3 separate regions of the Homo sapiens genome follow, and regions 1 and 3 are each linked to region 2. Evidence: promoter capture Hi-C in human tissues and cell types (Jung and others, 2019). All regions are on one chromosome and are shown on one strand. The core of a region is centred on a gene start or on the middle of the fragment in contact, and the rest is flanking DNA. Distances in the headings are between cores, read along the strand shown. Region 1 has its middle 73 kb from the start of RPA1. Region 2 holds the start of TLCD2 (TLC domain containing 2). Region 3 overlaps INPP5K (inositol polyphosphate-5-phosphatase K).

What was found. Contacts are between HindIII fragments. The study calls those that stand out against the background at their distance.
Region 1: a contact is called between a fragment that was not itself captured here and the fragment with the promoter of TLCD2 in region 2, in 1 of the 25 tissues and cell types used here (lymphoblastoid cells).
Region 3: a contact is called between a fragment that was not itself captured here and the fragment with the promoter of TLCD2 in region 2, in 1 of the 25 tissues and cell types used here (dorsolateral prefrontal cortex).

The regions. Positions count from the first base shown.
Region 1 is chr17:1,901,431-1,904,695 of GRCh38, reverse strand. No RefSeq gene overlaps it. Among named protein-coding and RNA genes, the nearest start is that of RPA1, 73 kb to the right of the region's middle. RefSeq lists enhancers at 348-397, 478-527. The HindIII fragment of the contact is 8,308 bases long and covers 1-3,265 here.
Region 2 is chr17:1,708,333-1,711,626 of GRCh38, reverse strand. TLCD2 (TLC domain containing 2) reads left to right here and starts at 1,250. Exons shown (of 4, transcript NM_001164407.2): 1 at 1,250-1,560; 2 at 1,741-1,823; 3 at 2,046-2,128. The coding sequence starts at 1,385. It overlaps MIR22HG (MIR22 host gene), which reads left to right. Exons shown (of 3, transcript NR_028505.2): 3 at 1-123. The HindIII fragment of the contact is 13,317 bases long and covers 1-3,294 here.
Region 3 is chr17:1,503,198-1,506,610 of GRCh38, reverse strand. All of the region lies in intron 7 of INPP5K (inositol polyphosphate-5-phosphatase K), which reads left to right. Among named protein-coding and RNA genes, the nearest start is that of INPP5K, 12 kb to the left of the region's middle. The HindIII fragment of the contact is 5,924 bases long and covers 1-3,413 here.

The DNA.
Region 1 (3,265 bases), core at 182-2,681, 190 kb before region 2:
TGAAGATATAAATAAACTTCAACATGAACAGCAGTGTCAACGGTGAGAGGAGATGAGAGTCCAACTGGGGCTTATTTTTAAAAAGTCCTGCCTGTTCTAACTCCATTTCAGGGCTGGGCATTGAAGAGCACAAAGCTGCAGTTCCCCGCGGCAAGCCCTCCTCTTTAACAGGCACCAGCCCCCTAGGTTACCTGGCCGTTGAAAGGAAGCTGCAACACACATAAGTTAAATATAGGTTTGGTTATTTGCATTTTACAAGCACCGAGAATGTTATCTGAGGAAGCTGTCATTTTTAATGACAGCACAAACTTCCAATTACCAACTGGGTAATGCACTAGGGAACGGGCATAATTTTATAAGAACGGCTCGCAATTATTAAAAGTTTACACGATCACTTCTGAGTTGGCTATATAAATATTTCTCACGAGGCAGGTGGGATTCAGTTTTTCACAGGGTCTATTCAAGGCTGAAAAAAAGATTTGTTTTATTGAAAAGTATACATTTTGAGACTCATCAACAGCTAAGGAGAGGGTGTAAAGCGACAGCTACTAAGAGCCTGAGAAGCTGCAAATGCAGCCAGGTGGCTGGTTCAAAGCCTCTCACAAACACCCACGAGCTCACTGGCAAGTCAGACACTGTCACGACAAACCCAATGCAGGTTAGGGGTATGGCAATGGATAACACAAGAACCTCTTACTGGCCGGGCACAGTGTCTCACGCCCGTAATCCCAGCACTTTGGGAGGCCGAGGAGGCCGGATCACCTGAGGTCGGGAGTTCGAGATTAGCCTGGCCAACATGGTGAAACCCTGTCTCTACTAGAAATACAGAAATTATCCAGATGTGGTGACACACGCCTGTATAATCCCAGCTACTCGGGAGGCTGAGGCAGAAGAATCGCTTGAACCTGGGAGGTGGAGGTTGCAGTGAGCCGAGATCGTGCCATTGCACTCCAGCCTGGGCAACAGAGAGAGACTCCATCTCAAAAAAATAAAAAATTAAAAAAAAAAAAAAGAAACTTTCACTCAGCCCATAGTCAAACACTGTCCTATTTGCACCAGGAACCCATTTCCGTTCAGTACCTCTACCCAGCCTCCGTGGCACCGCGTGGCTTCGTGTCAGTGACGAACACAGCGCATGCCACTGTTACCAGTGTTGCTCTCGGTCTGCCTCATACAGACCGGACAGCCCCGACCTAAATGAAGGCTCTAATCAGTGAGTCTCAAATCACCCAATTCTTTGTGAAGTCTTTCCTGATTGACTCCAGTCTTCCAGCAATTTCCCCCTCAACTGCATTTTAATATCACTGTGATATGACTACTTAGCCCCCAAGCCTTGCTCTAAATAGTCCATAGCTCTCAGGGACAGATATCTTTAAGTCACACACTGGCTGGGCGCGGTGGCTCACGCCTGTAATCCCAGCACCTTGGGAGACCAAGGTGGGCGGATCACCTGAGGTCGAGAGTTTGAGACCAGCCTGACCAACATGGTCTCTACTAAAAATAGAAAATTAGCTGGGCGCGGTGGCATATACCTGTAAATCCCAGCTACTCGGGAGCCTGAGGCAGGAGAATTGCTTGAACCTGGGAGGCAGAGTTTGCAGTGAGCCAAGATCACGCCATTGCACTCCAGCCTGGGCAACAAGAGCGAAACTCCATCTCAAAAAAAAAAAAAAAAAAAAAAAAAGTCACATACTAAGGCTGGGCGTGGTGGCTCACGCCTGTAATCCCAGCACTTTGGGAGGCAGAGGCGGGCAGATCACGAGATCAGGAGATTGAGACCATCCTGGCTAACACGGTGAAACCCCGTCTCTACTAAAAATACAAAAAATAAGCTGGGCATGGTGGCGGGCGCCTGTAGTCCCAGCTATTTGGGAGGCTGAGGCAGGAGGATTGCTTGAACTTGGGAGGCAGAGGTTGCAGTGAGCCGAGATTGTGCCACTGCACTCTAGCCTGGGTAAGAGTGAAACTCCGTCTAAAAAACAAACAAACAAACAAACAAAAAGACCCCAAAAAATCAGCTGGGCGTGCAGTAGTCCCAGCTACTCAAGAGGCTGAGGCAGGAGAATCACTTAAACCCAGGAGGTGGTGGTTGCAGTGAGCCGAGATCGCACCACTGCACTCCAGCCTGGGCGACAGAGACTCCATCTCAAAAAATAAAGTCACATACTGACAGGCTGGAACCATGAAGACGAGTGGCTACATACTTTTCTCAATGACTTTTCAAAACCATCATTACAAATATAATTACAAGACTTAATAATCATTAATAGCTTTAGATAATCAGGTTGATTTATAGGCAAGTCAAATGTATTCTCAAGAGGCCTTCTTTGCCAGGGTGGTGGGAAACAAGAGTTTCGCCTCTTCATAGGCACAGCCCCCGTCTGTGTAGTAGGCAGGATGAAACCAGGGCTCCAAAGCCTTCTTTTTCCCTCCCCTCCCTACATTAATCTACCTGCTTCCAAGGAAGGACCTGCTCAAATTACCTACCAGCCCTTGGTGGTACACAGGGTTAGAGGAGTTATCCCTGGACTTAGGCAAAGAAAAATCAATGAGAGAACCTAACAGAACAAGAAAAGGCATGGATTGTCAGTGCCACAAAGCATAAACGCTTCTGCTCGTGAAATCTTGAATTTATAACAATTAGAAAAAGTATAAGCATCCTGCAAGAGTGAATTGGCTGAAAACACATCCAAAGAGCCAAACACCACTTAAAATTATTTATCTAAAGCTATTAATGATTAGTAAATCTTTTAATTATGTTTGTGATTTTTTTGTTTTGAGATGGAGTCTCCCTCAGTCGCTCAGGCTGGAGTGCCATGGTGTGATCTTGGCTCACTGCAGCCTCTGCCTCACGGGGAGGGACTCTCTTGCTTCAGCCTCCCGGGCAGCTGGGATTACAGGGGTGAGCCACCACACCCGGCTAATTTTTGTGTTTTTAGTAGAGATGTGGTTTCACCATGTTGGCCAGGCTGCTCTTGAACTCCTGATCACAAGTGATCCACCTGCCTTGGCCTCCCAAAGTGTGGGATTATAGGTGTGAGCCACTGCACCTGGCCTAATGGTGGTTCTGATGCAATTTTTATCAAAATAAAGATGCCCATCCTAGGAGAAAATCATTACAAAATGATATGCTTACTATGCTACCATTTTTAATTTAAACTCTATACACATAGATACATAGAAAAAACTAGCCAGGGCCAGGCACGGTGGCTCACACCTGTAATCCCAGCACTTTGGGAGGCCGAGGAGGGCGGATCACGAGGTC
Region 2 (3,294 bases), core at 1-2,500:
AAAAATGTTGAGTGGTTATCTTTGTATGGTGGAACAAAGTCACTGTAATTTTCATCTTTGGTTTTTCTGTAATTTCCAAATTTTCCACATTTTGTATTTCATATAATATAATTTAAGAGATCAGTGTTATTATTTAAACCTTTGGAGAGGTGGGGGTAGAAGAATGAAGGGAAGACCTCAGCTTTTTGGTGAGAAGGTTTGGTTGGGGCACCTCTTGGTTTATGAACTTAATTCTTTGAAGTAGCTGGAATCCTCCCTCTCAGCCTGCAGGAAACAGCTCTGACTTGCTGACTGTCTGCCAGCTGAAGAGGTGGAGTGGAGTAAGGTGGAAGGAAAGCAGTGCAACCTGGGGCTCTTCAGGTGGTGAGGGGCTGGGGGAGGCTCTTCCTCTTAAGGCTGGAGGGTTCTGGAATCCTAACCGCCCTGCTACTAAGAGCAGGACAGGTCTGTTTTTCTCTTCTGACTCTGTCCCAGCCTTGAAGGGACCCTGTGTTACCTTTCCTTGCCCTCGGATTGAAGATATTCTACCCACCCAACGGGTACCAAGCCCTTGGGGAAGGAAGTGCTTTTCAAGACTGGGGGCCAGCGATTCCCTTTTGCGTCCTCTTCCTAATGAGGCTCCTCCGTAGGGCCGAAAACAATGCTGGGGGTCGGGGCGGGGCCCAGTGGGTCGCTTCTCCAACATGGGGTCTCCTGGGGGTTGTGGGGGAGGGGGAGCAGAACTGCTGGAATTACAGGTTTGCCGGGATATGGTAAAGGCGTGGAAACCTCAGGAGGCCGAAGGGGTGGCTCCAAGAAAGTGGGGCACCCCGTCCCCACCACGGACGCGGGGAGGGAAGTGGGGGCGGCGGCCAGGCTCGGGCAGGTACGAGTGGGCTGCGCTAGCCTCTGCCTTGCAGGGTGTGGCGGTGGGTGGTGATGACGCTCAGCAGGTGAAAGTCGCGGGAGCCGGGAAGAGGTCAAGGTTCGTGGGTGGGGCCCGGGAGTGTCAGTTGAGGTTAGACTGGAGACCCAGGTCTGCAACTCCAGCGCTTCAGGACGCTTGGAGCTGGGGAGGACCCCTATTGGCGAACATCCCGGAGGCCCCCCGAGCTCCAGGGCATGGTCTACTGCCCGGAGCCCCCGAACCGCTCCCCCGGCTGGAGCAAGACGCAATCGGTGGCCAAGGCTCCGGGGGCGGCGGCCCCGCGGCTGCTCCAATCACCGCCCAGGCGAGGGACTGGGCGTGGACGAACGGGGAAAAGTTCCTGCTGATCCCAAAGGCGCGGCGGGGAGGGGAGCCGGGGCCCCAGCCCTGCCGGGAAACGGGTTCCCAGTCCCGGCCGAGAGCGCGGGCGCCGAGGGGACCGACCCGGACTCCCCGCAACCCCCCAACCGCCAGGCCATGGCGCCCACGGGGCTCCTGGTGGCCGGCGCCTCCTTCCTCGCGTTCCGGGGGCTGCACTGGGGGTTGCGGCGGCTGCCCACGCCGGAATCGGCCGCTCGGGACCGCTGGCAGTGGTGGAACCTCTGCGTCTCCCTGGCGCACAGCCTGCTCTCGGGGACCGGGGCGCTGCTCGGGTGCGGGCTTGGGGGCTCGAGGCGCACGGGGCGAGGGCGAGGGGTGGGAGGCTGAGGCCGGGAGACCCGCCGGGCGTCTCCAGAGCTGAGACTGGGGTGGGGGTGCGCACAGGGAGACTGCGGCCGGGGCCTCGAGAGGCTGACCATGCCCCCCCCCATGTCCCCACCCCATGCCCCCAGCCTGTCACTGTACCCTCAGATGGCCGCCGACCCCATCCATGGCCACCCGCGCTGGGCTCTGGTGCTGGTGGCTGTGTCTGTGGGTGAGTCTGCAGGGAAGGCTGGGCCGGTGGTGGGGATGGGGCGGGGGGCAGGTTCTGCTGTCCTTCCAGGTCCATTCCCCGCCCCCATGGGGGTTAAACGTTCCTGAAGGCTTTACCAAGGGAAAACTAAGAACTGGGAGAGGGGCGGGGCGGGGGGGCTGGAAATCCTCTCTAAGCTGCCCGGGCTCTGGAGCAGCCTAACCCCTACCCCCATGCCCACAGGTTACTTCCTGGCAGACGGAGCTGACCTGCTGTGGAACCAGACCTTGGGCAAGACCTGGGATCTTCTCTGTCATCATTTGGTGGTGAGACTCTGAGGGCAGAAGCCAGACAGGAAGGGAGGAGGGGAGCCCTGTCCAGCCCGAGGTTCCCAGTCTCTCCTCATTCTTTTTTTTTTTTTTTTTTTTTTTTTTTGAGACGGAGTCTCACTCTGTCACCCAGGCTGGGGTCCAGTGGTTCGGCCTCTGTTCACTGCAACCTTCGCCTCCTGGGTTCAAGCAATTCTCCTGCCTCAGCCTCCCACGTAGCTGGGATTACAGGCACCCGCCACCACGCCCAAGTAATTTTTTGTATTTTTAGTAAAGACGGGGTTTCTCCATGTTGGCCAGGCTGGTCTCGAACTTCTGACCTCAGGTGATCCGCCCACTTCAGCCTTCCAAAGTGCTGGGATTACAAGCATGAGCCACCGCCCCCGGCCCTCTCTTCATTTTGCTGTCCTATAATTTCCCACAGTCTCTGCCCCCAGCTGGTGCTTGGCTCCCAGTCTTAGGCTGAGTTAGGGGGAGGAGGTGGCTGCTGGCCACAGCTGGGGAGTCCAGATACCCACCAGGCCAGGGCACCTACCATGCCAGGGCACTCACCATACAAGGGCACCCACCATGCCAGGGCACCCACCATGTGAGCCTAAGGAGTTTGGGTGCCCCCACAGGTGTCCAGCTGATCACAGAAATGTGGAATATGGAGCTTTTCTGAGAAGGGGGTGTCCTGGTATAGGGTGTGGGTATGGGGCATGAAAGCCCTAGGCCAGGCACGGTGGCTTATGCCTATAATCCCAGCACACTGGGAGGCCGAGGCGGGTGGATCACGAGGTCAGGAGATCGAGACCATCCTGACTAACAGTGAAACCCCGTCTCTACTAAAAATACAAAAATTACCTGGGTGTGGTGGCGCGCACCGGTAGTCCCAGCTACTCTGGAAGCTGAGGCAGGAGAATTGCTTGAACCCAGGAGGCAGAGGTTGCAGTGAGCCAAGATCACACCACTGCACTCCAGCCTGGTGGCAGAGTGAGAGTCTGTCTCGAAAAAAAAAAAAAAAAAAAAAAAAAGCAAGCAAGCCCAGGAATGGGAGGTTAAGGGGGTATTAGGGGGTGAGACAGCCCCTCCCTGGGCCAAGCCTGGTTCCATCTATGGAAGGGTTGTTTCAAGGCTGCTCAGGGCCCCAGGATAAAGGTAAAAGCATAAAGGTCAGGTGT
Region 3 (3,413 bases), core at 352-2,851, 210 kb after region 2:
GTTACTGGTATTAAGGACGCCTGCCCCAGCCTGTGAATGGGTCAGGTCTTGTGTGAGAAGGTGAAGTAGTAGGTAGAGAGTTTCATCAGGATCAGTGTAGAGATCATGAGTCTGGTAGTTAGAAGCACGGCTCTGTCTTATTTTAGCCAAAGCGTTTAGGCCTTGATTTTGTCAGCTATAAGGTGTGGATGAGAAGAGCACACACCTCATGAGGCTGAGGACTGAAGGAGGCCGTCACCCAGTAACCATGGGAGAGAACGGCTATTGTGACTTTTCGATTCATGCCGGCTGGGCGCGGTGGCTCACACCTGTAATCCCAGCACTTTGGGAGGGCCGAGGCAGGTGGATCACTGAAGGTCAGGAGTTTGAGACCAGCCTGACCAACATGGTAAAACCCCATCTCTACTAAAAATTCAAAAATTAGCTGGGCATGGTAGCGCGCACCTGTAATCCCAGCTACTCAGGAAGCTGAGGCAGGAGAATTGCTTGAACCCAAGAGGCAGAGGTTGCCGTGAGCCGAGATCTCACCGCTGCACTCCAGCCTGGGTGACAGAGCGAGACTCCGTCTCAAAAAAATAATAATAAAATAAATAGATTCATGTCTTCCCGTGATAGATTTACTAAAAACCTTTCTAAGAAGCTGAGAAGGGGCCAAATAACCACCAAAACCTGAGAAAGAACCACTGGCAACATGTCCCTGACTCATTTTGGGGCAAGGAACCTAATCTCTTTGAAGAAAAGAAGAGCCCCTTACATGTCATGAGGGTCTTTGTTCCAGCGGGAGCAGCTTGTTCATTCCTCCTAGCTGGAGTGTCTCTGTGAGGGAGGCGGGAGGTACCGGCAGGGCAGCCCAGGGCTTTGGGATTTAGCCAGGGAAGAAATATCTCCACAGCCAGACCAAGACAAGAGGTAGAACTCAAGCTTGGTTCTGGAAGTGTTACAGCAAAGCCAAAATATCCTTGTCAAGGAAAGGGGGAAAGAGTGAGCCGATTCAGCAGTGTGGAGCAAGACAGGGTAGGGTCGTGAGCAGGGCCGTCCACAGAAGAGGAGGCAGTGGACGCTGGGGAAGGGACCCGCCCTGGGCAACAGAGCAGGCAGGAAAGGAGGTAAGAGGCCAGGCTGCAGCAGGATGGCCGGCCCAGATCAACAGCTGCAGGGAGACTGCCAGTCTCTGCAGCCATCCATTGGAAACAAGAGTCCTGGTGGGAGCTGTAAGGACAGGGTAGGGCCTTGGGTGGGGAGGGGGTGCTTGAAGCCAGGAGTTCAAGACCTGCCTGGGCAACATAGTTAGACCCCGTCTCTACGAAAATTTAAAAATTAGCTGGGTGTAGTGGCATGTGCCTGTAGTCCCAGCTACTCAGGAAAGCTGAGGCAGGAGGATCACTTGAGCCCAGGAGTTAAAGGCTGCAGTGAGCTGAGATTGACTCACTGCACTCCAGCTGGGCAACCCTGTCTCCAAAAAAAAAAATCCTCTTTAAAAACTTACCAGCAGGAAGAGAGCTGCTGGCAGGCCCTACGGCCAGGCGTCCCCTTCTCCCAGCCCTATGGCAGAGAGACCTCCAGGAGACTGAAGTTTGTTGCAAAAGCTGGATCTGGGCTGGAGTTGGCAGGGTCAGAAAGGGTAGAGAGCTTTGGAGAAGTTCAAGGGCTTCCCCAGGTAGCTCAGCCAGTGAGTGGCAGAGCTGGGGCTGAGACTGATCTCTGAGTCTGTAGCCCACAGTACTTTCCTCAAGCCCATCGTACCTCAGGATTCATGGTCATCCTTGCCAGCAAGAGGAAAAAGGATGGCACGGTGAGGAAGGCAGACTCCCGCTAAGGAGGAGGCACGCACCTATTTCCAAATAACAGCTCATTGTGATTGGCGTGCAGGTGTGCGCCAAGGCTTTGCCTGTATCAGTTCCTACCATGTCCTCGTTAGGTAAACAGTGTTATTATTGCCTGTTTACAAGGAAAGCAACTGAGTCTCAAAGAATATATAAGTAAGGAGTAACAGGCTTCTTCATCGCACGAGGATTGGAACTCATATCTGTGTCTGTAGACTCATGAGCCTTCGGTACTGCTTCCCTTTGGCTGGAGCCCAGGAAATGCAAGACTGTCTGGGCGGGAACAGGGGACATGGTAACTGAAATACTCCTGGCTGGGGCCAGGATCCAGGGGCAGCTGGGAGTTTTGCAGTGAGCAGGGCCTGAGCCCACCTGGGGAACAGATATTCCTGTCTAATGACACTGTTATTTTATCCTTGGAAACCCAGTTGAGACATCACTTCTCCTAGGACGCCTTCCCGGCCCCTCCTCATCTCACTGAGAGTTCCTCTCCTGCCTTGTGCCACCCCCAGCCTTGCGCATGCCATGCTTTCAGTGTTGCTTTTGAGACACAGCGTACCTTTCTTACTGTACTGTGATTGCCCAGAGAGCAGAGACGATCTGATTTAGGACCATCCCTGGGAGTAGCACAGTACCTGGCATATGTTACCAAGCCTGGGAGTTAGTCAATAGAAGGTTTCCAGAACTCCGTGCAGAAGGTTGGAGCAAATGTTAAGGAGGTGAACAGCTAAAGCTAGGAGAGGCCTGTCAGACTTCCTGTCAAGGACAGTATCTTGAAGGAGGCACAGAGTTTCGCAGAAAGCAGAAAGGCGGGCTTTCCAATCAGTCAGCACACTGACGAGAGGAACCTGGAGGGGGCCGGTTTGATGAAGTGACTGTGAGCGTTAGTGTGCTGGGCCAGCCACTACGGTGTCCCTGAGCCAAGATGTAATGAGAAACGAGGCCAGCTCCCTTATAGGGAGGGCAAAAGGGCTGAGGGCAGGGCGGGAATCCTGCTAAAGTCCGGGGTTACACTGGAGTTTTGTTATAGTTGCCACTGTGAGCCCAGACAAAGTGTTTTATTTTTTTCGAGACAGAGTTTTCTTCTTGTCACCCAGGCTGGAGTGCAATGGCATGATCTTGGCTCACTGCAACGTCCGCCTCCTGGGCTCAAGTGATTCTCGCCTGCCTCAGCCTCCTGAATAGCTAGGATTACAGGCACCCGCCACCATGCCTGGCTAATTTTTTGTATTTTTAGTAGAGATGAGGTTTCACCATCAGAGTGAGAACCCTCCCCCTGCAAAATTTTTTTAAAAGGCCTGGTGTGGCCGGGTGCGGTGGCTCACGCCTGAAATCCCAGCACTTTGGGAGGCCAGGCGGGTGGATCACGAGGTCAGGAGATCGAGACCATCCTGGTGAACACGGTGAAACCCCGTCTCTACTAAAAATAAAAAAAAATTAGCCGGGCATGGTGGCGGGCACCTGTAGTCCCAGCTACTCGGGAGGCTGAGGCAGGAGAATGGCGTGAACCCAGGAGGCGGAGGTTGCAGTGAGCCGAGATCACGCCACTGCACTCCAGCCTGAGTGACAGAGCGAGACTTCGTCTCAAAA